6 separate regions of the Homo sapiens genome follow, and all the other regions are linked to region 3. Evidence: promoter capture Hi-C in 16 types of primary human blood cells and fetal thymus (Javierre and others, 2016). All regions are on one chromosome and are shown on one strand. The core of a region is centred on a gene start or on the middle of the fragment in contact, and the rest is flanking DNA. Distances in the headings are between cores, read along the strand shown. Region 1 has its middle 6.4 kb from the start of LINC02783. Region 2 overlaps PADI1 (peptidyl arginine deiminase 1). Region 3 holds the start of SDHB (succinate dehydrogenase complex iron sulfur subunit B). Region 4 holds the start of PADI4 (peptidyl arginine deiminase 4). Region 5 overlaps PADI3 (peptidyl arginine deiminase 3). Region 6 has its middle 13 kb from the start of MIR3972.

Region 1 (4,004 bases), core at 50-2,549, 130 kb before region 3:
ACTCTCTGCTCCAGTGCCCCCGAGATGGCCTGTCCGGAGCTGGCCTTTCTCAATCCTGTTTGGAAAATGACTTTTATGTGAAGGAGACCGGCTGCCCCGCCAGGCGTTTATGAGCCTGGCTTATTGGTCTGGACTAGCGAGCCTGGGGCACAGCTTCTGCATGAGCCAAAGGAAACACTTGCCAAGGGGCAGCCCTGGCCAGTCCATAGCTTCTCTGAAAGTCAAGGCTGGGAGCAGGCTGGGAATCCCCAAAGGTCAGAGCCAGAAGGGACCCAGGGGATGAATTGGTCCAACCCTTGCCTTTTACAGATGGGAATGGTGAGGAACAGAGAAGGGTGGCGACCTGCCCAAGGTCACCAACACTGGCTCCCAATCCCTGGCCAGGGCTCTCTGCAGCACTGGAGCCACGTGGAGCAGCACTTCCCCTCCAGCTGTCCTTGTGGGGACAGGTCAGGATGTCGGATAGGTCTTCTGTATTCGGGTTTCTGGGGGGCTGCCCTTTGTTTTTGTTTTGTTTTGTTTTGTTTTGTTTTTTGAGATGGAGTCTCTGGCTCCAGTCACCAACCAAGTCCCAAGGCCTCCCAGGCTGGAGTGCAGTGGCATGATCTCAGCTCACTGCAAACTCCACCTCCCGGGTTCAAGCGATTCTTGTGCCTCAGCCTTCCAAGTAGCTGGAATTACAGGCACCCACCACCACGCCTGGCTAATTTTTGTATTGTTAGTAGAGATGGGATTTCACCACGTTGTCTAGGCTGGTCTCGAACTCCTGACCTCAGGTGATCTGTCCGCTTCGGCCTCCCAAAGTGCTGGGATTACAGATGTGAGCCACGGTGCCTGGCCTAGGGGGCTGCCCTTTGTGGGGCTGTCCTCCTGGCTCTGTATCCGCCCCTATGGCATCCTTTGAGGAGGCTAACCCAGGACCTGGCCATGGCATCTGGCCCAGAGCTCTACACTTAAAATGTATGCACTCTGTAGAGGTTTGTACCACCCCTCCTCCCTGTCCCCACCCCCACCAGCCACCAGGATCCCCAAGCAGGGGAAAGGGCTCTGCTGAGACAGCTAAGCTGCTCCCACTAGGGAAGGAGTGGAACTTACTGTTTATGGGCCACCAACCCTGTGCCAGCCCAGAGCAGAGCACTTGAACATAACATTACCTCATTCAAGTCTTAACGGTTGTGAGACCAGGCATCTTTATGAGGAAAAAAAGGAGATTCCAGATGTTGAGACACTTTGCCCGAGGTCACGCAGCACCACGTGGGAACCTGGGATGCCAGCCTGGCTCGGTCTGCTTCCAAAGCGCACGCTTGATTTCCCCACTGTGTTAGCAGCCTCCAGAAGGGCCTCAGGCGATGCCCGCCTCCTCCAGGGAGCGCCCAGAGCATCCTGTCACCTCAACCCCTGACTTGCAGGGGCTAGGCTCTGTCCATGGTTCAGAGCTGGCTGTGCCCTCAGTTGTAGCCCCGGCTGTGGGGCTCCCTGAACTCCCTGGGGAGAAGTGATGGGACAGGCATAGGCAGACCTGGCCTTGGGACACATTCAAGCCCATTGAGATCCCCAGGCCCACTCAGGCCTGCATGGGGGGCCCAAGGGCTCAGCTAAAGAGGATTCATGGGCCAGACTCTAGTTTCACAGTTCAAGGCTGGGATGGGAGTTCTGAGGCTTGGGCTCCAGCTGAACTCTGCCATGGCCTGCTGTGTGACCTTGGGCATCTTGCTGGACCTTTCTGAGCCTTCATTGCTAGGAGCTGGTCACTGACATCCTGTGATACGTGGGTCTACATGTGCCTGGTTAGATCCAAAGGTTCAGGCAGAACCTTTGCTCAGCAGGAGGGGCAGAGGAGGGGAAGAGAGCTGGACCGGGACTGGGTATGACCTACTGGGCTGGGCCTCTCCAGTGGGACTTTGCTGATGGCATTCTTCACTGGTTGCCACATCAGCAACTCTACCAGAGTGGAGGGTGGCCTGGTGGTCCCTCTTGCAGAAAGTCATGGCAAGCCTTGAAGATTATGGGTGCAGGACTGAGGGCTGGGCCACTGATTCCGCTTGTTTTATGGTTATAGAATGATTTGGGTTCTCCATTTCTTGTGTTACAGCTCAGTGACGCACTGGAGGCTGGCTCTGGAGAGCAGATAATGCACATCTCTTCCCAACACCACACTCAGGGATGTCACACTGGCCATGGTGGGAGTATTTACACCATGGAAACTGGTTAGCACTACACGAAAGGGGCTTTTATGTGTGCGGCATTAGGTTGGTTGGTTTGGAAAGCCAATTGTTAAATATTTATCAGAACACCACACGGGTTGTGTGGATAAGTTAGATTTTCCAAGAAACTTGTCATTTTTATCTAAATTTCCACATTTCTTGGCATATACATTCTTTTAATTTAAATTTAAGTTGCTTCCTCAGTGCAGTAGGCAGCATGTCAGTCTCATAAATTTAATTTTAGCAACTAAAGGAAAAACGCATAAATTGGACTTCATCGAAATTTAAAACTTTGGGCCAGGCACGGTGGCTCACGCCTGTAATCCCAGCACTTTGTGGGGCTGAGGCAGGAGGATCATGAGGTCAGGAGATCGAGACCATCCCGGCTAACACTGTGAAACCCTGTCTCTACTAAAAATACAAATAATTAGCCGGGAGTGGTGGCAGGTGCCTGTAGTCCCAGCTACTCAGGAGGCTGAGGCAGGGGAATGGCATGATCCTGGGAGGCGGAGCTTGCAGTGAGCCGAAATCGTGCCACTGCACTCCAGCCTGGGCAACAGAGCGAGACCCCGTCTCAAAAATAAATAAATAAATAAATAAAATTTAAAATTTTGATGCTTCAAAGGACAATATCAAGAAAGCGAAAAGACCATCCCCAGTGGGGAGAAGATATTTGCAAATTGTGAATGCAATAAGGCTCTAGTGTCCAGAATATGTAAAGAATGCTTATCACTCAACAATGAAAAGATTACAAAGTGGACAAAGAATTTGGGTAGATAGTTCTCCAAAGAAGATATACAAATGGCCAATAAGCCCATGAAAGATACTCCATACCATTAGTCAGTAGGGAAATGAAAATCAAAACTGCAATGAGATACTACCTCACACTCACTAGAATGACTATAATCAAAAAGGCAGACCACAACAAGTGTTGACAAGGAGTTGAAGAAGCTGGAAGCCTCATACACTGCTGGTTGGAATGTAAATGGTGCAGCCACTTTGGGAAACGCCGGTGCAGCTGCAGCGCTGTGATAGATTGACAGCCCTTCTACCTCTGGGGAGGAGGGGAATGTGACAGGAAGGGGCTGCTGGCCTGGGGCTCCTTCAGGGAGGATGCAGACACTTTTCTGGAGGCCTGGGCTCTGTGTGTTTGCAGGTACAAGCTTGGCTCCCCAAAATATTGCAGGAGATGGGTGTCCCCTCTCTTGGGGTCCCCCAAGGGCTAGTAGGTCTGAGATGGTACCAGTCTCCTCCAGAAACAGAGGTGGCTTCTTCCGTTTCCTGTGGTGGCTTCTCTCCGTTTCCTGAGTGTAACACAAGGTTACGCTCTTGTGTGCCTGTCTTGTTAAGTTCCTTTATTTAAGACTTCTCTTTTTCCCATTGAACCTTGCCAAAAGTTCATCCATTTAATTAATCTTTTCCAAGAACCAACTTTTGGATTTTTGTTTTAGTCCTATTTTTTTCACCAATTCCCACTTTTACATTTATCTTTCCTTTTGGGGGGTTAATTTCATTATTTTTCTAAATTCTCCAGTTTGGCGCTTAGTTCATTCACTTTCTGCCATTCTTCGTCCCTACTGTAAACATTCAAGACTATACATTTCTTTCTAAGCACAATTTTAGTTGAGTCCATGAGTTTTCATATGTGACCTTTCTACTGCTCAGTTCGGAATTGCCATTGCAATGTCTCCTTTGATCAATGAGTTATTTAAATGACTGGTTTTTAAAATTTCCAGATGAATAGGGTTTTCTTATTATCCTTGCTGAGTTCTAAGTTAATTGCTTTAGAGTTAGAGGATG
Region 2 (4,278 bases), core at 1,035-3,534, 160 kb before region 3:
GTACTGTAAAAGAAGCCTGCCCCCAATAGCAGGCATGGCCTCCCCTTCAGCCATCTCCCTGGTGACTGCTTCCCCCTTACTCCCTCCAGCCCCTGGGCCTGGAGGTGGGCAAGGGTCCTTCATGCTCCTCAATGTCCCTTCCAGATCATCATCTTTCTTCACTCCGTAAACCCCCAGCTTTGCATTGACATTTCCAGACTACACCACCCATCTACAGGGACACCTTTGCACACCATCGCTCTGTCCTCATCTCGAGGGTGCCAGCTCCTGCCATGTTCCTCAGCCGGCTGCCGTCACCAGTTTATACTTCAATGGCGATGTAGATGGTGTGCTGCACCCTGGTCCCTCAGTCCCTTGACCTCTCATCCAATGCTCCTGTCCTCCACCTGGCCTCATCCCCTCCTTCACGGGGCAGGTGCTATAGAATGTTATTATCAAAAAACTGCACCCACTACAAGCTCCCCTGTTAGCAACCCACTCGGACACCGCTTCCCAATATTCCAGCTCACTCCTAACACACCAGTGCAACCAAACCTTCAGCCCACTGGGACGCTTGACCTTTGAAGGCTGAGTCCTCTCTACTCGCCCCCCACTGCTGTCCCTCATCCCTCATGTTCCCTCTTCCCTTCCCCAGGATAGTCCCATAGATCCCATAGTCCCCCGCTGCGGCCACCCCCTTGCTCCACTCCCTAATCTTTTGCTCATCCTTCCCTCCCTTGAGCTGCCTGGCAGAGCTCCAGCTATACAATCAGATCCAACTCTCCACCCCCTCTGCACCTGCACCACGCGGCTGACCATGGTTCACTTGGACTCATGACTGCTGACCTCAATGGATGCGTGACATGCTCGTGCTCCTACAGCATTGCTCCAGGCTCTTTTCTCTTTCAGTGTCCTAGAGGACTATGTCCTATCTTCTCCTATCTCCAGAAGCCTCCCCACTCTTCCCCCTTGTCACTCAGAGCCTTCAACCTCCCTCCTCCCACCACCTCATCTCCCAGCCCTCCTGCCTTTGAGTCCACGACCATGCCTGCCCTCCTGGGAAGAGGGGTGTGCTGTCTGGGCTCTTGCCCAAGACCAGCCCTCCTGGGGCACATCCCCTACTCAAGGGCATCACTGGCCTTGCCCCTTCTCCCCTCCCTTGCACCCAGCACACAGACGTGAATATCACCCATCCCCAAACTCATTCTCCTTTGACCTCCTCATTTCTTCTGCTCCCTTGACACCTCCAATTATTTCTTCTCTTTGCGTCTGCAACCTGCCTCTAATCAGCCTTTCCTCCCACCACACCAAGGAAACTCCACTGTTGCCAAACCCAGTGGGTCTTTTCTCTTCTTCCCCTCATTGACCTGTCAGAGGCACTTGGCCCAGATGATCACCTGTCTTTGAAACACTTTCCCACTTGGCAGCTGGGACACGGGCTCTGCTTGCTCTCCTCTGACTCCGTGGCCTTTCCTCTAATGCCTTTGCTGTGTCACTCCCCCTTACCCCCTAACTCCAGGCAGTGGTGTGCTGGCAAATGTTTAACAACCAGCTCTCTGGAGTGGGGGGGTTCTTATGCATATATATGTATATATAAATTTATTATAAATTTTACTGATGTAAATAGTGTGTAGCACATAATGTAAAAATAATAGTATAATACATATAATTCTTTATTGTAAAATGTGTTGTAAATTCTATATAGTACATTGATTCCTCCAGATGCCCTCTCTTGCAACTGTAGCCAACCTGTGGTTGCAATTTGACCATGATTTGACCAATGCAATTGCATCCCAATCTGCTCATTCTTTCCTCCATAAGTTTATTGTCACTAAATCTGATATGTGACGTAAACGTTGGTTGATATTTTTGTTGGCATTCACGAATAAGATGAAAGGGGAAACAATGAAGATGCATGTCACCCTTCATTCATTCATCTAGGATATGAGCAACCTCTTTGCTGAATCAGATAATCCTGGAGGAACATTTCATCAATTTTTGGTACTAACCACAATGTCATGGCTATAGACGCAATACACTTTTAAATTGAGTTGACATTGTTAACCTGTCTCCATCACTTTCTGAACTCTAGGCATTTGATAAAACGATGAATGAAGCCCTGATTTGTAGCCTTGACCAATGTCTGTGGTGTAAACACTCCCACTCTAGCCAGTTTCAAGTTACCAGCCCAACATCATTGGACTCAGAGTTTCAAAGAGCTGCATAATAGCACCTCGTGACATCACTATTTCCACTATATCTGGACAATGGTAAAATGCAGTAAAATAATTAAGCAGTGATGAGTTTTCAGTACTACTGCCTTTGTTTTTAATATAATTTGCTTAATTGTGTGTATATTTAATTTTAAATAGTGGCTGTGTTTAACAAGGGGTTCATAACCTTCTTAAAAATTAAACAATCAGATCTCCTTGAGGAAGGACCCTGGTACATTGCCACAAACACACTGTTCAACTTTCTCCCAGCCTTCCCCGAGAGGACACACAACTTTTTACCAGGGTGACTGTCACTGGGGAAAAGGAAATAATCGTACATTTCTAGTTCTCCTGCACACCGGCCCTGAACTGGTCTAGGAGACCCTAAACAACACTGCGGCCCACCTGGCAGAGCAGGGGCTCATGGAGGCCAGGTGATCCATGGAGTTTCAGCTCAGGTTCATCTTACAGTGGGTCCAGTAGCCCCTGAGCCCATGTGTGGTTCCGCCCCACCCCAACAAGTTCTGAAATGTGTAATTGGAATAGGCACCATCGGCAACGGGCAGAATCCCTACACTGGTACTCTTCAGAGTGCGGCTGGCCCCAGCGCACCTGGCTTAGGGCTCAGCCTCCCCTCTCCTCCTCTCCTCCCCTCCCTCCCCTCTCCTCCTCTCCTCCCCTCCCTCCCCTCTCCTCTCCTCCTTTCTTCTGTCTACACCCACTCCCTTGGTTTTCTCCACCTGCCACATCAATATGGTTAGAACTCTCAGACTTCTTGCTTTCTGAGTTTCTCCCTGGGTGTCTACCAGGCATTTTATTTTATTTATTTTTTATTTTTTGAGACAACGTCGTGCTCTGTCACCCAGGCTGGAGTGCAAAGGCATGATCTCAGCTCACTGCAACCTCTGCCTCCTGGGTTCAAGCGATTCTCCTGCCTCAGCCTCCCAAGTAGCTGGGATTACAGGAGCTCACCACCACGCCAGCTAATTTTTGTATTTTTAGTAGAGATGGGGTTTCGCCATGTTGGCCAGGCTGGTCTTGAACTCCCGACCTCAAGTGATCTGCCAACCTCGGCCTCCCACAGTGCTGGGATTACAGGCGTGAGCCACTGCGCCCAGCCCTACCAAGCATTTTAAATTTCACACATCCAAAGCCAAACTCCTGCTTCCCCATGCCCACTCCTTCCCCACTCCTTTCAAACCTGCTCCTGCCCAACCCACCGCAAGTCTGTCCATAGCAGCTCCACCTTCCAATTCAGCCTCACCTCCTCTTGTTCCCTCACTCGCACAGCCAGCCCCTCAGCAAATCCCATCAGCTCCACCTTCATAGCAACTGCAGACCCTGACCGCTCTCACCTCTGCCACAGCTCACATCCTGTCCAAGCCACCAGTTGCTTCCATGTGGATTTTTATCATAGGCCAGTGACCTGCTTCCCCTCTCTCCCCACAGTCCAGCTTCAACATAGCAGCCAGAGGGACCTTTTAAAATAGAAGTCCCGTTGCATCCCTCCTGCTCAGAGGCTGTCACCAGAGCCTGTGTGGCCTCCCAGGCTTTCCTGACCCATTGCTTTCCCTCCCCACGCCCTCTTGCTTGTTCCTGCCGTTCTTCAAGCATGCCAGGGCTGCAGCTCTGTCTGTCCGGAATGTTCCTGTCACCAATCCCTGCGGTCCGCCCAGCCCCTCACTTCCTTCTCTCAGGGTAGCATACGAGGCCTTTCTGATGTACCCTTCTTGCCTGTTGCAAATGGCGTGACACAAATGACACCATGAGTCTGGTTCCCCAACCCCAGCTTCATTCCAGCCCATGGCACCGGCCACCTCCCAGCCACCTGACAGAGCACATATCTGCTCATTGCAGTCTCTCCCTCTAAAATGCAGAGATTTTTTTTCTGTTTTATGCTGTCTGCATCGCTGCTGTCATCTCTGCATCCAGCTTAGTGCCTGGCATGAACCAGGGGCACAATCAACGCGTTCTGGACAAGGACACAGCGACTCAGGATGGTGGAGTGGCTTTCTCAGGACTGCCCAGCGGGGAGGTGGCTGAGTCATGATTGAATCCAGTCGGCCTGGCCCATGAGTTCCAAGAG
Region 3 (4,246 bases), core at 231-2,730:
CCTGCCACATAGTAGCCACTCCATTCGTATTTATGAATGAATGAATGAACGAACAAAAGAATGGCACCTTTGCCAGCCACCCTTGAAATCACCTCAGCTCATTCACCAACTGCCCAGTTTGTTTGGGACTCTCAGTGCAGAAACCTGGGCAGCCTCGGGCAAGCTGCACGGTATGCGACAGAAAGGGCTGACTCAAGCCAGTAAGCGTCAGAGATGAATAATAAGACTGACAAATTCTTAGGGAGGCTAGGTGTGGTGGCTCACGCCTGTAATCCCAGCACTTTGGGAAGTTGGAGCAGGATGATTGCTTGAGCCCAGCCTGGGCAACATAGCCAGACTCCATCTCTACAAATAATTTTTTAAAAAAATTATCCGGGTGGCCGGGCGCGGTGGCTCATGCCTGTAATTCCAGTACTTTGGGAGGCCGAGGTGGGTGGCTCACGAGGTCAGGAGTTCAAGACCAGCCTGGCCAAGATGGTGAAACCCCATCTCTACTAAAAACACAAAAAAATTAGCCGGGCATGATGGCGGACGCCTATAATCCCAGCTACTCGGGAGGCTGAGGCAGGGAATTGCTTGAACCCGGGAGGCGGAGGTTGCAGTCAGCCGAGATCGCGCCACTGCACTCCAGCCTGGGAGACAGAGCGATACTCCATCTCAAAAAAAAGAAAAAAAAAAAAACTACCCGGGTATGGTGGCTCACACGCCTGTAGTCCCAGCTACTCTGGAGGTGGGAGGATCGCTTGAGCCTGGGAAGTCGAGGCTGCAGTGAGCCAAGACTGCACACCGGCCTGGGCAACAGAGTGAGACCCTGTCTGAAAAAAAAAAAAAAAATTGGCCGGGCGCAGTGGCTCATGCCTGTAATTCCAGCACTTTGGGAGGCCAAGGTGGGCGGATCACGAGGTCAGGAGTTCAAGACCAGTCTGGCCAAGATGATGAAACCCCGTCTCTACTAAAAATACAAAAAATTAGCCGGGTGTGATGGTGTGCGCCTGTAATCCCAGCTACTCGGGAGGCTGAGGCAGGAGAATCGCGTGAACCCGGGAGGCGGAGGTTGCAGTGAGCCAAGATCGCGCCATTGCACTCCAGCCCGGGAAACAGTGCGAGACTCCATCTCAAACAAACAAACAAAAATTCCAGGAATAAAGAGGTTGAAATCGGGGCAGGGACCCGGATAGGATGGCTCCGCCCCATCTAAGTCTTAGCCCCACCCCCTGAAAGTCGCCCTGCCTCTCAGACTCCTCCCCTTTCTGAGAAGGTCACGGGGGAAGCCAAATGGGCATGCGCCGCTACTGCGCTATTGCGCACGCTCGCTGTGCTTGCCCCGCCTTCCCTCCGCCCACCCGGGAAACCGGAAGCCGCCTCCCACTTGGTTGCTCGTACGCGGCTAGTGGGTCCTCAGTGGATGTAGGCTGGGCGCCGCGATGTTCGACGGGACACCGGCGGAGAGCGACCTCGGGGTTAAGGGGTGGGGCTGACGTCAGGAGCCAAGATGGCGGCGGTGGTCGCCCTCTCCTTGAGGCGCCGGTTGCCGGCCACAACCCTTGGCGGAGCCTGCCTGCAGGTGAGTCCTGGAGCCTCAGAGAGGGAAAAGTCAGGAAAGCCACAGAGACTGCCTGGAGCTGATGGGGCTGCGGAGAGACTGAGGAAGCATAGGGCAAGGCCTCAGGGAGATGGAGGACCTCCTCCCCCTGGTGCAGTGCTTTGGTTTGGCTTCGAGCATCCCTGTCAAGTTATCTTTCTGCGCCTCGCAGCAGCTTGTGAGTTAGGGCACGGGCAATTTTTTACAGCTAAGGGTGCGGGGGGGGGGGACGTTCAGAAAGGGGACTTGAATTGCTCAAGGTCACATGGCAAGCGAATGACTGCTGGAACCAGAATTTGAATCCAGACATTGGAGTTCCAAGCCCTTTTTCTGCCACCAAACTATCGCCTCTGTAGAAAAGGGAGACCTGCGGGGTGTGAAGGATGGGAATTGGGAAGCGAGGTAATTCCTCAAGGGTGCGAGGTTGAGGACCGGGATGGGTGAGGAAAGGACATGTGAATTGTTGGGGACAGGGCAGGGGAAGGGAGAGATGGAGGGAAATGCACCCAGCCCCCTACCTCGAAGGATCCCGGAGGTGGGTGGTGGGGGTTGCAGGAAAGACTGGGTTCCTTAAAGCAGTGTCACCACAGTTTCACTAGTATCCTCTCAGTGTTTCTGACTCTAAAGGTCATATAATAATACGGACCTCATAGAGTTGACATGGAATGACAGGTAGAGGGCTTGGCGCTGTTCTTGTTTATTACTATGCCGTGTGCAGTAACAGATTTTCCCACGCCCCTTGTATGGCCAAGAAACAACACATTTCTGACCTGCCTTCTAAGTGGGAACATTTAGAAGGGGAAGGGAAATTGCTTTTGTATACATAAGGGACTAAGGATTTGCAAATCCTTTCTAAGTCTGTTCCTCTTCTGGGATTCTCAACAACCCCTTTAAGGTGGGCAAGCAAGAATCCTTACCCTCCTTTTTGGAGCTTTGAAAACTTGAGGCCCCCAGAAAGAAAATTTTTGGCTTGCTCAAAATATCACATTCCCAAGAAGCAGACCTGAGGCAGTTTTTTAACATGGTACCAGAAAAACTCCTTAGCATAGATCTTGGGACATGGTTGGTGTCCAAGAAATTTTAGTTCCTCTTCCTCTCTTGCACTTAAATGAGGACATCTTTCATCTTAAGTGCCTGCTATGGCTGCATAACACAGTACATATTGCCCATGTTCCAATCCTGGTTCTATCCAGCATGCTGTGTGTGAACTTGGATCCACTCTGTCTGCATCAGCCTTTCTGAAAAGGGGAGATAGAGGAAGAAGACAGCCTACCAGAGCCTCAAGCTGACATCCTCTCAGTATTAAATTGATGATTGATAATGAGCTTGTTTACCTGTTCCTTTTATAGTTGCTGAGCAAACAATTAAATTGTGAGAGCCCCACTAACGAGAGAGTTCCAAGCCCCTCTTCTAAGAATGCATTGTAGAAAAGGCTAATTTCATAGGTCATTTTTGTAATTCCAGGCAAGGTCTTTGCAGGGCCTCCTGAGGGCAACAGAAAATAGAAGAGCCCCAAGGCCTCCCCTTCCTTGTGGGAATGTACATGTATACCCACAAAAGCCACCTCAAAAGAATTCAGTAATGAGCTTGGTGTGTTACCTGTGGGTAACATTCAGGTTCAGGTTCTGAATTCTTTTTATGCTTATAGTCTGACCACTGAACCACAATTCTGCCTGTAAGTATTTGACTGTAGTATATTAACTATTGTTTGTGTTGCCTTATTTCTTCATCTGGACTATGAACTCCTTTAGGACAAGAACTACCTACTTAAAAGTGTGTATCTTGCCAGGTGCAGTGGCTCATGCCTGTAATTCCAGCACTTTGGGAGGCCAAGGTGGGTGGATCACCTGAGGTCAGGAGTTCAAGACCAGCCCGGCCAACATGGTGAAACCCCGTCTCTACTAAAAAAATAAAAAAAAAATTAGCTGGGCGTGGTGGTGGGCGCCTATAATCCTAGCTACACAGGAGGCTGAGGCAGGAGAATTGCTTGAACCTGGGAGGTGGAGGGTGCAGTGAGCTGAAATCGCACCATTGCACTCCATCCTGGGCGACAAGAGCGAAACTCAGTCTCAAAAAAAAAAAAAAAATTTAAAAAATGTGCATCTTGTTCCTTAGGCTGGCAGGGCTAGGATACCTATTTACAAATCAGAATAATACAAAGACTGATAAGGTTGCCAATCTTGTAGAGCAAAAATTTTTTTCTGGGCTATGCTAGAAACTTGACCCCCCCTCCCCCGGGTTATCTTATGAGGCAGATATTAATACTACCCACCCTTTACAAAGGAAGAAATAGAATCCGAAAAGCTAATAATTTGCAGAAGAATACACAGCTTGTAAGTGATAGAGCTTGGATTTCAAGCATCACCAATCACACTTTTCAGCAAGCCTGCACCTTGTATTTTACTCAGGCTTATCTTCATACAGTCCTTTTTGCTTTCTTCCTCTCTATTTCCCCACCTTCTTCTCTGGCCTCCAAATCTTTATCCACTCCATCCAACTCCAAGCCTGCACCCTAAGGACACTTTACTGGAGGAACAACAACCAGCCTTCAGCACCATTCAGAATTCACCCTTCTCAGTTCAGTTGTTGCTTACCTTGCTTAAATTATAAACTATGAAATTCATACTATCCAAGATTTCCTAGGAATGTACTTTCTGCCTTGAA
Region 4 (4,156 bases), core at 736-3,235, 250 kb before region 3:
TGAATGAGTTGAATGTAGGAAGTGTGATGTAAATATTAGCCATTGTTACGTGAGATGTTCAGGGGATAGAGTGACAGGCTCAACGTGTGGCTGAAGGAGGAGAAAAGAAGGATTTAGAGGCCCCTGTGAACTCCGGAGTCCCCATCCTTTCTGGGAGAAATGGGCAGTGCCTTCCTCTCTGCCCAACACTGACCAGCTGTCCACCCACCTCTCTAGGGCCAGAGGAAGCACTTGTGATCTTGATTACTACTCATGGACGCTGGGTAGAGGGCTAGCCTGGGCATGCTGGGAGAGGCCCTGGGCTAGCTTCAGCTCCTGTCATTTCCTTCACACCCATTCTCAGAGGAGTTGGGGGCGCCTCAGATGATGTCAGGTGATTTTCTTTTTCCTTTTCTCCCCAACTTCTTGGTCTCCTGCCTCCACCATGTGGCCCTGGGAGACCATCCCGACATTTCCTGCTGTTCTCTGGCTGCTGGGGCTCAGGCAGTAGCAAAGAAATGTCCCCGGCACTCCTGTGGGCACCATTCTAGGGCCACCGATGCCCAGACTGGGATGGGGAAGCCAGGGGCAACCACTCCTATTCCTGACAACAGCAATTGTTGCAGGATAATTTAGGAATCAGAGAGACCGAGGGGTTGAGGAGGATTTATTATTTAGATTCACTGGCTCAGTCAGGCTAACATTTCAAAAGACTGAGCCCTGAACAAAGAGTTAAGTTATCTTTTAAGCATTTCATGGGGCGGGGGTAGATCTGTGCAGGGGGAAGCATATTATAGAGGCAAGAAACAAAGACAGTTATTTAATTGAGACATGCATTATATTATTTTTTACTTTTTAAGGAAAAAAATTTTTACAGCTTGAGTTTATCTGTCTAGTGACCTTGCAGCTGCACAGCTGGAGAAACAGGGTCTTTACAATGCCTGGAAAAAGAGGAGCAATAAGGCTCACTAGCCACAAAAAAACAGGCAGTTAATTTTTAAGGGACTCCAGCTCTTTTTTTTTTTTTTTTCCAGGGAAAATTGTTTTTTTTTTTTTTAACATAGAACTGAGTTTTTGCTTACACGTTTTAAAATTTCTTTTAATTCCTGTTCTACAATAACAACAATGACCCTGCACACTCCCCGAGAGCATTCCTCAACTCTCTTGTTTAACCCAGACCCTGCCACAGAGCATGGCACTCAGCATTTGTTAAATGAGTAAATAAAAACTACCAAGGATGGGCCCACCACTGTGCTAAGTACTCAGCCAACATCTGCACATTTTTTCACATTGAATTCCTATAACCAGCCCATGATGTGAGTATTATCCCCATTTCACAGATGAGGCAACTGAGGCTCAGTTGCCCAAGGCCTCCTTGCTAGCCAGCAGCAGGTCCAGGCTTCCTACCTCAGTCTCTGCCGCCACAGAGCCCCGTTTCGCCATCCCCACCCACGCTATTATGCACCCACTGAGGGAGGCTTAGCTAAGAGATGTGGGGTAACAAACTGTGCTGTGAACCAGGAGGCCCAGGGGCTAACCTTACTTCCAGGGCACACGTGCTGTGTGACCTTGAGCAAGTCACAGACTCTCTGTAAGCTTCTGTTGCCTCGATGAAGACAGGGAGATGGATGGCCTGGTTTGCCCCATAATAATTTATCTGTCGTGTGTTCCTGGGGAATTTGCACTTGTACATGGCAAAGAACCCACAGCCATGAGACTGGCACTTCCCAGGGCTGCTGGGGTCTTCTCTCTCCAGCTACTCCCCTGGCAGTGGCTGCAGAGGCTGGAGCCTAGAGCCTGGGCCAAACACATGCTCCTGTGTCAGTAGAACTGGGTCATCCAGCATCTCCTGACCTGCCTCCAAAACCCCAGAAGGCCCCCCTCTTACCTGCAGATGTCAAGCTGAGTCAAGGTGCCCAGCACACACACGGCATGGGTGGGCTGCTCTGGGGTCACACGGATCAATGTCCCCTGGGCCATCGTCGGGCTAGCTCGTCCCTCTGGCTGTAGGAAGCCCCTGGGCTGGTTCCTTTATATCGCCCAGCAGAGGCCATGAGTCAGCACCTGCGGTCTGTGGCCCAGAGGCTCAACCCCTCCCCACTCAGGTCAGGGGTGTGGGCTCTCAAAATCTCCTCTGCCCTGGGGCTGCCCCTCGGACCTCTAGATGGGTGTCAATGCTGGTACCAGTGGCAGGGTGGCTCTGTCAGTTTCTTGGGAAGGATGGATGGCTCAGAAAGCCTGGGGTGGAGAGTGGGGCTGAGGGGTTGGGTCCTGGTCCTCATGCCCACAGTCCCATCCCTGCCTAGAGGCCCTGAACACCTTGATCTATCCAATCTCACCTATGTCAAACAGGCATATCAGAGAGGAGAAGGTGGGAAAAGCGGGGAGATTTTAGGTAAGCAGTCACAGGCCAGGCTACACGTTCAAAGACCAACCAGGCTTGGGACAAGTCTCTCCACCTGGGCCACCCACATGACAGCTCACATTCTCTATGCCAGGCACGTTTTCCTGCACTTCACATAGAATAGCTCATTACGACAAACCCGTGAACTAGATCATACCATTATCCCCTTATTTCACCCTCACAGCAGCCCTCTGAGGTTGGTGCCATTATTATACCCATTTTACAGAGGAGAAAACAGAGGTGCAGTTCTTCCACAGCTCGAGAGTGGTAGGGCCAGAATTGGAACCAAAGGTGTCCAGTTCCAGAGTGTGAGATTCATTAGCTGCCTGTCTATATGACACGTGCTTTCCAGACTGTATCACAGCTACATCTCGCTACAATACAAGGTGTATATGGGCTTATTATTACAACCCATTTTACAGAAGGAAAATTGAGGCTCAGAGAGTAAAAGTGACTAGCTCTTGCCCAAGGTGCCAGAGCTAGAATGCGGCAGAGCTGGGAAGAGAAGATGAGCTTCCTGGCATGGAAGTTGATGTTCTCTGCATGCTCCAGGATACCTGCCTCTTGCCAGGGCCTCTGGGTGTCAGACCAGACAGTGCAGGTGTGGGCCACGCCTGCCAGGGGGATGCCCATGTGGCCTCAGAGCTGTGGTTGCACCTGGGCCATTGGTGCCAGGCTCTGCCTTTAATGAGGCAACTGGGGGGTGGTGGATGGGTCCCAACAAGGAGCACTCAAAGGGTGCATGCATGGGAGTCTGGCGTGAACATAGAGCGTTTCGTGGGTTGGATATCTTGCGTTTGTTTTTTGTTTGCTTGCTTTGGCTTTGAAGCAAAGAATTTGCCTCATTAATTCAGAGTCAGGCTGTGGGATCAAACAGGCTTTAGTTCAAATCCTGCCTCATCTCAACATCCCTATGGAGTGCGTCCTATCAGGATGCCCATGTGTAGATGAGACCACAAAGACTTAGAGAGATTGAGTGAGACCCCCAAGGTCTCATAAGCCCTACAGTGGGGATCTGGATTCAGACCACCTTCTCTGGGCTCAAAATTTATCTTCTGTACCAGCAGATGATGATGTGGCCAGGTCCGACGTTCTGACGCATCTACATGACTGCCTGCACACAGTGTTAATAAACCCAATTTCTCTGGCTGACCGCATGATTAGAACTAGTTTGAGCTTCTACTGGGAAGTGGCAGGAGGGAGCTGTCCATTGTTAGAGTTGGGAGGGCCCTTAGAGAACACCCAATCCAGTCCTCGTTTTGCAGAAGGGGAGACTGAAGCACAGAAAGGGAGTGGGACCTGCCCACGGTCACACAGCAAATCAGAGGGAGGGCTGGCCTCTACCCCAAGTCTTAGGTCTCTTGAGGTTGTTTTCTTCTGTTCCTTCTTTTCTTTCTTATTTTCTTCAGCAGTTTGGGGTTTAAATTTGCTGTGAACGAGCCACAAAGAGGACGAGCCCCAAAGCAGTTTTGTTAATTCAACAAATACTGACTGAGTGCCTATTGATGGCCAGGCACTGTTCCAGGCACCGTGGATACGCTGTGAACAAAGTGGACAAAAATCCTGCCTTCATAGAGCCTTTTTGTTTGTTTGTTTTTGTTGGGAGAGAGACAGCCAGTAAGCAATAAATGCAGTAAGTGGATTCTATCGTATGTTAGTGGGGTAGAAAAAGGAAAAAGGACAGGGTAAAGGCTACCAGGAACACAGGGAGAAGGTTCCAAGTCAAGAGAACAGCCAGTGCAATCGGTACAAAGGCCCTGAGGCAGGGACATG
Region 5 (4,289 bases), core at 517-3,016, 210 kb before region 3:
GGGAAAAGGCCTCTACCTCTATAGGTCTCTACCTCAGAGGCTTGTAATGCAGCTTGGAAACAATACATGTAAAAGACTGAGCCCATAGGAAGTGCCCAAGAAATACTAGCTACTGTTATCAGTGGGCAGGTGGCATCTTGTGGGGTGGGGGCTGGTTAAATGCAGGGCTCTGAGGTCAGATGGCCTGGGCCCAGATTCTGAATCCCCCACTTTTGAATATCCCAGGAAAAGTTACTGATCTTCTCTGGGCCTCAATTTCCTCAACTGTAAAGTGGGGATAATAATAGTTCCTACCCCTTAGGACTAATTAGAGGCTGTGAAGATGAAAGGAGTCATGTATGGGGCACATGCAGCTCGGTGCCCGGCCCACAGCGAGCACTCAAGAACTGTTACAGGGTGAGGATGAAGATGGCGTGGATGATATTTAGTTGGAGGCAGATGAATCCAAGGCATCCAAGTTCCCTTTAAAGCATGACCCTCCCCTTGGGGTATTCCCTCCTGACATGGGTGTCTCAACTCTCTGCTTCTCATGTCCGAATCTCAGCCAGAGGGGAGGATCTTGCAGGGGCCACTCACCTCTGTAGTCCTGGGAGCCCCTAAATCCTGCAATTACTGACCTCCATGTGTCAATCACCAGCAGTGATGCTTGCCTCAAACATACAATTACTGGGATCCTGGCCAAAGGCAGGATAGGGAGCAGGGGTATATGGCGGGTGAGGGAAAGAGTGGGAGAGACTCTGAACTTCCTCCATCCCACCAGCCATCATGGCCAAGGAATTCAAGGTGGGGGTACCCACACCATCGCCACTTCAACCGGCACCAAGGTGGGGCCCCTCACAGGCTGGCCAGTCCTCTTGCACTACCCCTGGGACTCTGTCCTGACTCTCACCAGCTCTGCCGCTCGCTAGATCATGTGACTTCAGGAAAGCCACCCCTTCTCCTTCTTAGTTTTCTTGCCTATTAAATGGGTTCATTGGGTCCTGCCCCAAGTGCCTCATGGATGCATGGCTGGGAACAGAGGTGGGGGTGATGGAGGGAGACTGCCCCCAGGGGTCTGCACTGAATTCTAGCTCTCCTGACCATTAGTGTGCGGTCCCGGGACAGTTACTCTGAACCTCAGTTGCCCCATCTGCGAAATGGGCATCAGTCCCCCACCTCTCTGGGCTGCTGTGAGGGCTGGATGAGGTCATGGCTGCCCAGTACCTGGCACGTGGTCAGTGCTCCTTAAAGGGCCAGTTTCTGAAACATCGCTCCTGACATGGAGTGGATCCCACTACTCCCACACTCCAAGTCCTGGTCCCTATCAGCCCTCGAAGCAAACATCACCTGTGCCAAGCTTAAAGGCCACCCATTTCTCCCATGTGTTAAATGTCCCCTACCCTGCAAATAGGGTCAGGAAGAGAGTGGATTACGGACAGCAAAGCGCCTTGGGGAAATGCTGTCACCTAGGAAGGGGGTCTTCCCAGGCACCGGTGTCCCTCCCCTGTCCCTGCTTTCTCTCTTTCATTCAAAGTGGCAGAGATCCCCTAGTCAACCCTCAGCCTACATGTGGGGAAACTGAGACCCAACTCAGCAGAACTGGGACAACTCCTTCTCCAGGGGGTCTTGGGAAGCAAGAGAAGGAGCAACACTGGCTCCTATGGCACTCCACAGCAATGATAGGAGACAGGGGTTATGATTATCCCATTTTACAGATGGCAGACAGAGGCCCCAAGGGGATGATAAGGCTTTCCAAGGACACATGGTATGTGTCTGTAACTTGCAGAGCTGGGATTCAAAATCAGCAGTATGGCTCCAAGGCCAGGCACTTACCCACTGTGTTGCCCTGCGCTCTGGAGAAAGAGAATGTTGGGCCCTCCTAGAGCTAGACAGCTGCCTCCCTCGAAACCTCTCCCCACCCCACCAGGGACCAGCTCACATGGCTGTCGTTGAGGTCATTGCTGGGGGAGTTCATGACCACGATGATCTCCAAAGTCGCGTCAAAGCGCCACCGCCTGGTGTCTGCACGCTCCCGGCCCCTCTCCATGTTGGGAGAGATGTAGATGTCCACGCCAGGCGTCCCATAGACCTCAAACATTTCTGTGCCCTCAGGCACTGACCTGGGCAGGGCAGAGAGCCATGGTCGGTGCCGAAGGAGATATATTTTGCTCAGATGTTTGAGCTTTGGCTCAAGCCCTGCTTCCTCCAGGAAGCTTTCCTTGGCCACCCAGTCCCCTCAGATCCTCACAGTAAGCTCCTGCGAGTCAAGCCTGGACCCCACACAAACATATACACAGTCGGCCGGGCGTGGTGACTCACTCCTTTAATCCCAGCACTTTGGGAAGCCGAGGCGGATGGATCACTTGAGGTCAGGCACTTTGGGAAGCCGAGGCGGGCGGATCACTTGAGGTCGAGCCTGGCCAACATGGTGAAACCCTGTCTCTACTAAAAATACAAGAAAATAGCCAGGCGTGGTAGCATATGCCTGTAATCCCAGCTACTGGGGAGGCTGAGGCAGGAGAATCGCTTGAACCCAGGAGGCAGAGGTTGCAGTGAGCCAAGATTGCACCACTGCACTCCAGCCTGGGCGACAGAGCAAGACCCTGTTTCAAAACAAAACAAAAAAACATACACACAGTCTGATGTTCTAAGCCCCTGTGTTCATTAACATTTCCCTTGTGAGTTTCTTTACCACTCACCAGAATGGCGAGCTCTTCGGAAGTCAGAAGCCAGCCATGTGCTCGATAAATCCCCAGTGCAGGTCTGGGCACGAAGAGCTCAGTGAACACCAGCCATTGGTGGGTGGAGCCCCTTACAGTTCTGAGAGCTTTAAAAAGAGCAATTCTCACCCCAGATCCCATCACATGTCTCCTTAGTGGGTGGGAAGATATCCTTGAATTCTTCCCTGGGAAGGGAATTCAATCTGGTTGAGTGCCCGCTGCATGCCAGGCACCTGGCGCACGCAGCTCCCTCCACTCTTACAAGCTGTAAGGTGAGCAATATCATCCCCATTTGGCATATTAGCAACTGAGGCTCAAGGAGGCCTCGTGACAAGCCTGAGGTTGCATCACATGGCAGAGCCAGATGTGCAACAGGTCTGACTCCAAGCCCATGCTGTTCCACAGCTCTGCAGTGTCACCCGGGAAACTTGGCCGGATTTGGTCAAACAACCAGAAATTAATTGCAGGTTTAAAGTATCTGTGATGTTATCTGGCCCTGAGATTGCATTTCCCTCATTCCACCTAGCCTGGGGTTCCTCCTTGGAAACCAGACTATGCATCCTTTGACTGTGGGGTGCCCACTGTGCACTCAGGTACTGCCTGGCGGGCAGATCCACCCACTGCTCTCCCCACTGTTGATCCCGCTGGGGAGCTGAGGACCAACATTGTCCAGGGCAGCCAGATGGGGCTCAAGGCCACAGGATCACAGCTCAGTGGGAACCCATGTAGGGAGAGGCCACTGCGAGTTGGAGGGCCTCCTGGAGGCAGCGGCATGCATGCCCCTGGGGGATAACAGTGACTGACACTTACTGAGCTCATGCTGTGTGCCAGCCCATCATGCAATCCTCTCAATAACCCTAGAAGGGAGGCACTATCTATTATTGTCTCCCATTATACAGATGAGAAAGCCGAGGTTAAGTAACTTGCCCAAGGTCTGTGGCCGGGCTGGGATCCAAACCCAGCCATGTGGCTCCTCAGTCCACACTCTTGCCCACCACCTCCCCAGGAGTAATAATAACAACAATACCATAACATAAAAAGCCCCCAGCCTCTGCACTCTTATCACGGCAGGCCTGCCTAAGCCTTTTTGTACATTAGCTCATCTGATCCTCACTGCAGCCCCAGGATGAGATAATTACTCCTGTTTACACATGGGGAAACTGAGGCACAGGATACGTAGGGGACTACCCCAAATTTCCACAGCTGGCCACTCCCCCCGCTTCCCATCTTCCCTCAGAGTAAGGCAGACCTCCCCCAAAACAACCTCTTCACTCTTCCACCAACATGATTCTCTTACATCTCAAAGCAGCTTTTTTATGAAAAGGGAAATAAACCAAGCCCAAGCTTCTCTCCATCAGGCAGGTCCCACTCTGGTGTCTGGGCCCCTGTCAGGTGTCCTCACCAGTTGGGAGGGACAGACACACCTGTTTCTCCTCCTAAGCAGGGCTGCCAGACTTAGCAAATAAAAATACAGAAAGCTCAGTTGGACTTGAATTTCAAGTGAACAGTCAATCATTGTTTGGTACTCCCGTGAAGTATTTGGGATACACTTATACTAAAAAAATTATTAATTATTTACCTGAAATTCAA
Region 6 (3,735 bases), core at 933-3,432, 240 kb before region 3:
TTGTGACTGAGCCATTACATTCCAGCCTAGGTGACAGAGCAAGACCCTGTCCCACAAGAAAAAAAAATACAATTGATTTTTGTATATTGGTTTTATAGTGACAGCCTCGCTAAACCCTCTTATGAATTCTTTTACTTTGTAGATTCTTTTGGATTTTCTGTATATATAATAATTCCTTTCTAATCTTATACCTCAATGGCAAGAACCTTCTGTTCAATGCTGATTAACAGTTATGATAATGGGTATTCTTATTCTGATCCTAGAAGGAATGGTTTCAATACTTTATCATTAAGAATAATTTTTGATGTGAGTTTCTTATAGATCAGTAGTTCTCAAACTTCAGTGGCACTAGAATTACCTGAAGGGCTTATTGAAACACAGACTGCTGCTCCCCCAGCCTCCAGAGTTTCTGATTCAGAAGGTGTGGGTGGGCCTGAGGACTTCCATTTTGGACACGCTCCCTGGTAATGCTGATAATGCTAATGCTGGTCTGGGGACCACACTTTGAGAATCACTATTGTACCTTTTTTTTTCTGAGACAGAATCTTGCTCTGTCACCCAGGCTGCAGTGCAGTGGCGTGATCTTGGCTCACTGCAACCTCCGCCTCTTGAGTTCAAGCAATCCTCCTGTCTCAGCCTCCTGAGTAGCTGGGATTGCAGGCACGTGCCATCATGCCCCACTGATTTTTGTATTTTTAGTAGAGACAAGGTTTCACCATGTTGCCCAGGCTGGTCTTAAACTCCTGACCTCAAACGATCCACCCACCTCAGCCTCCCAAATTGCTGGGATTACAGGAGTGAGCTACCACACCCAGCCTATAGCTATTCTTTATGGGGTTAAAGAAGTTTCTTTTTATTCTTAAGTTTTGCTTAAAAATCATAAATGATGATTTTATTAACTTTTTTCTGATTTATTGAGATGATCATGTAAATTTTTTCTTTGATCTATTAACCTGTTGAATTGATTTTCTAAGATGAAACATGCATTCCTGGGATCAATTTATTCTGATCTGATATTGTATAATCTGATATTGTATCATTTTTGAATTGAGTTTGCTAATAGTTTTGTTTAGAATTTTTGCATTTATGGGTTTATTGTTATGTTCGTAGGTTTTCTTTCTCATTCTGTTCTTGTCAAGCACAGCTAGCAAACTCAGGTTACGTGCTACAAAACAGAAGCTCTTACAGTTATTATTATGGCTTTACAATTGTACTTACCATACATTGTTGCTACTCTCCGTTTGCCCTGCTTCTCTACTAACCTATGAGCTTCCTAAAGGCAGATTCCATATCTGCTCACCCACTGCTGTATCCCCAGAATCTGCTGCTGAGCTGGACACATAGTAGGGAAAATTGTGCCCATGTAAAATAGGTGTGAGGATTAAGTAGCTACCCTGGAGAGGATGAAGAAGGCCCTAAGCTTGCTGGGGATAGAAAATGAAGAAATAAACACTTGTTAGGTTCTTGCTGTCTGCCAGGTACTGCTGTAGTCCTCAAACAACCCGTGAAGGTAAGCATTATTCCCATTTTACAGATGAGCAAATGGAGGCTCAACCATAGGAAATCTCCCATTAAATTTGGTCTTGCAACTGCTTCTTGGCCTTTTGGCTAAGAGCAAATGTAGAATTTGCTCTTGCAAGGTGGTTGAGCACACTGACCACTCCACGTCCCTTTATAAAGGTCCATGTATGACGGGAATCATTTTGGCATGCTGCCTTCCTTCTGATAATGAGAATTAGGTGGTTGACTCTGGTTCCCTTCTTGCAAGGGCTACTGGGAAGCTCCAATCCTAATGATAGTTTGGTTCTCATGGTCATATATTTGTTTGTCCTTTTCCATGGGTTTTATTTTCTGGATTTTTTTTTCTGTTTTGGTGTATTATTATTATTATTATTATTATTTCAAGATAACCTATCCTGGGTTTCAGCGATTCTCCTGCCTCAGCCTCCTGAATAGCTGGGATTACAGGCGCCCGCCACCACACCCGGCTAATTTTTGTATTTTTAGTAGAATGGGGTTTCACCATGTTTGCCAGGCCCGTCTCAAACTCCTGACCTTAACTGATCCACCTGCCTTAGCCTCCCAAGGTGCTGGGCTTACAGGCATGAGCCACCGTGTCTGGCCTTGGTGTCTTAATGTAAAAAATTTTTTTAAATCATCAGTTTGTTGAATGTACTCTTAATATATGTTGCCTCAAATCCCTAGAGGAATTTGGCAAAGGAATTAAAAAAAAAAAAAACACCAGTAAGTAAATGTGCTGATTGAGCTGTCCAGTAGACTCCTGGGGAGCGTTAGTCACATAAACACTTCTGAATGATGCCCTGCCCAGCCCTGCTCAGGTCCCTGCTTGCTGGAGCACTGGAAACTGCCCAAGGCAGCTATAATTTCTGTGATTGAGATGTTTTGAGTTAAGATAATTGGCATTGAGATGCAGTTTCTCAGAATGCCAAGACTTATTTAAAGACCCAAGAAGAGTTCAAAAAAGAAACTATGGAGCTAGCTTTGGTGCTGGCTTCCAGCTCTTGAAAGACAGCATTGCTTCAGAGAGCCAGCTGAGCGGTAGTTAGTTTCCATCTGCTGGTCCAGGACAGACACATCCACCAAGCACCCACACCGGCAACGTTCAGCCTGGGTTTCTGAGTGTGCATTCCTTTCCAGGAACTCGGAAGGAGACCCTTGCCCCCTGACATCCTATCAGGAACCATCTCAAATCCTCACCACCAACATAACAATAAAATGCTGTGAACCAGGAGACCCAGGCGTGGGGCCCAGAACTGGGGGGAAGCACTTGGGGGAAGAGGGATCCCAGCCCTTTTCTTGCCCGAAGCCTCGAAAAAACTTGCCCACTGCTTTGACTCATCTGTGAGTCCTGGGGGAGTGGCCACTGGCCCATCATGGTGGGCAAATGGGGGATACACGTACCTGCTTTGTTACCAAAGCTTTGCTGTAGCCAGGCTTTTGTTTGGTTTTGTTTTTTTAGATGGAGTCTCACTCTGTCACCCAGGCTGGAGTGCAGTGGCGCGATCTCAGCTCGCTGCAAGCTCCGCCTCCTGGGTTCACACCATTCTCCTGCCTCAGCCTCCTGAGTAGCTGGGACTACAGGCATGAGCCACCACGCCCGACTAATTTTTTGTGTTTTTAGTAGAAATGGGATTTCACCGCGTTAGCCAGGATGATCTCGATCTCCTGACCTTGTGATCCACCCGCCTTGGCCTCCCAAAGTGCTGGGATTACAGGTGTGAGCCACCACGCCCAGCCAGAGTATACAGGTTTTCATTCCATAATTATTCTTTTAGTCATTCAGAAACATTATAAAAAACTTGTCTTGTATTAATGATTTACTTCATAATAAATCAATGAGTAAATAAATCTCAAACTCTGGGAGGGACTCTTGTCCCTGCCTTTTCCCTGTTCCCCACGTCCTGTCCAGTAAGCCCGTCCCTTCCGGTTTCCCCACAAAGAGTGAATTGAATGTGGTGGCTTCTCTTCGGCTGAACTAGCTGCCACCTTCTGACTTGTCTCCCTGCTCCCATCCCTCACCCCAAAATTTCATGCTAAGCTTTTCCCCATGCAGAGCTTTCTTTATTATTATTATTTTGAGATGGAATCTTGCTCTGTCTCACCCAAGCTGGAGTACAGTGGTGCGATCTCGGCTCACTGCAACCTCTGCCTCCCTGGTTCAAGAGATTCTCCTGCTTCAGTCTCCCAACTAGCTGGGATTACAGGTGCGAGCCA

What was found. Contacts are between HindIII fragments. The CHiCAGO score rates a contact against its expected background, and 5 or more counts as called.
Region 1: a fragment that was not itself captured here is called in contact with the fragment with the promoter of SDHB in region 3 in 1 of 17 cell types (neutrophils); the score reaches 6.7 in neutrophils.
Region 2: a contact is called between a fragment that was not itself captured here and the fragment with the promoter of SDHB in region 3, in 4 of 17 cell types (neutrophils, monocytes, M2 macrophages and 1 more). The highest score is 9.1, in neutrophils.
Region 4: a contact is called between the fragment with the promoter of PADI4 here and the fragment with the promoter of SDHB in region 3, in 5 of 17 cell types (neutrophils, monocytes, megakaryocytes and 2 more). The highest score is 19.9, in neutrophils.
Region 5: a fragment that was not itself captured here is called in contact with the fragment with the promoter of SDHB in region 3 in 8 of 17 cell types (neutrophils, M0 macrophages, megakaryocytes and 5 more); the score reaches 16.0 in neutrophils.
Region 6: a fragment that was not itself captured here is called in contact with the fragment with the promoter of SDHB in region 3 in 7 of 17 cell types (neutrophils, endothelial precursors, monocytes and 4 more); the score reaches 12.8 in neutrophils.

Annotation. Positions count from the first base shown.
Region 1 is chr1:17,181,372-17,185,375 of GRCh38, reverse strand. No RefSeq gene overlaps it. Among named protein-coding and RNA genes, the nearest start is that of LINC02783, 6.4 kb to the left of the region's middle. The HindIII fragment of the contact is 4,141 bases long and covers 1-3,369 here.
Region 2 is chr1:17,215,623-17,219,900 of GRCh38, reverse strand. The region is part of intron 1 of PADI1 (peptidyl arginine deiminase 1); the gene reads right to left. Among named protein-coding and RNA genes, the nearest start is that of PADI1, 13 kb to the right of the region's middle. The HindIII fragment of the contact is 9,935 bases long and covers 1-4,278 here.
Region 3 is chr1:17,051,266-17,055,511 of GRCh38, reverse strand. SDHB (succinate dehydrogenase complex iron sulfur subunit B) reads left to right here and starts at 1,480. Exons shown (of 8, transcript NM_003000.3): 1 at 1,480-1,564. The coding sequence starts at 1,493. RefSeq lists enhancers at 941-990, 1,541-1,600. The HindIII fragment of the contact is 17,146 bases long and covers 1-4,246 here.
Region 4 is chr1:17,306,026-17,310,181 of GRCh38, reverse strand. It overlaps PADI4 (peptidyl arginine deiminase 4), which reads right to left and starts at 1,985. Exons shown (of 16, transcript NM_012387.3): 1 at 1,868-1,985. The coding sequence starts at 1,959. The HindIII fragment of the contact is 10,543 bases long and covers 1,578-4,156 here.
Region 5 is chr1:17,257,388-17,261,676 of GRCh38, reverse strand. It overlaps PADI3 (peptidyl arginine deiminase 3), which reads right to left. Exons shown (of 16, transcript NM_016233.2): 2 at 1,919-2,099. Among named protein-coding and RNA genes, the nearest start is that of PADI3, 10 kb to the right of the region's middle. RefSeq lists enhancers at 1,642-2,141, 2,142-2,643. The HindIII fragment of the contact is 856 bases long and covers 1,339-2,194 here.
Region 6 is chr1:17,288,567-17,292,301 of GRCh38, reverse strand. No RefSeq gene overlaps it. Among named protein-coding and RNA genes, the nearest start is that of MIR3972, 13 kb to the right of the region's middle. The HindIII fragment of the contact is 1,519 bases long and covers 1,423-2,941 here.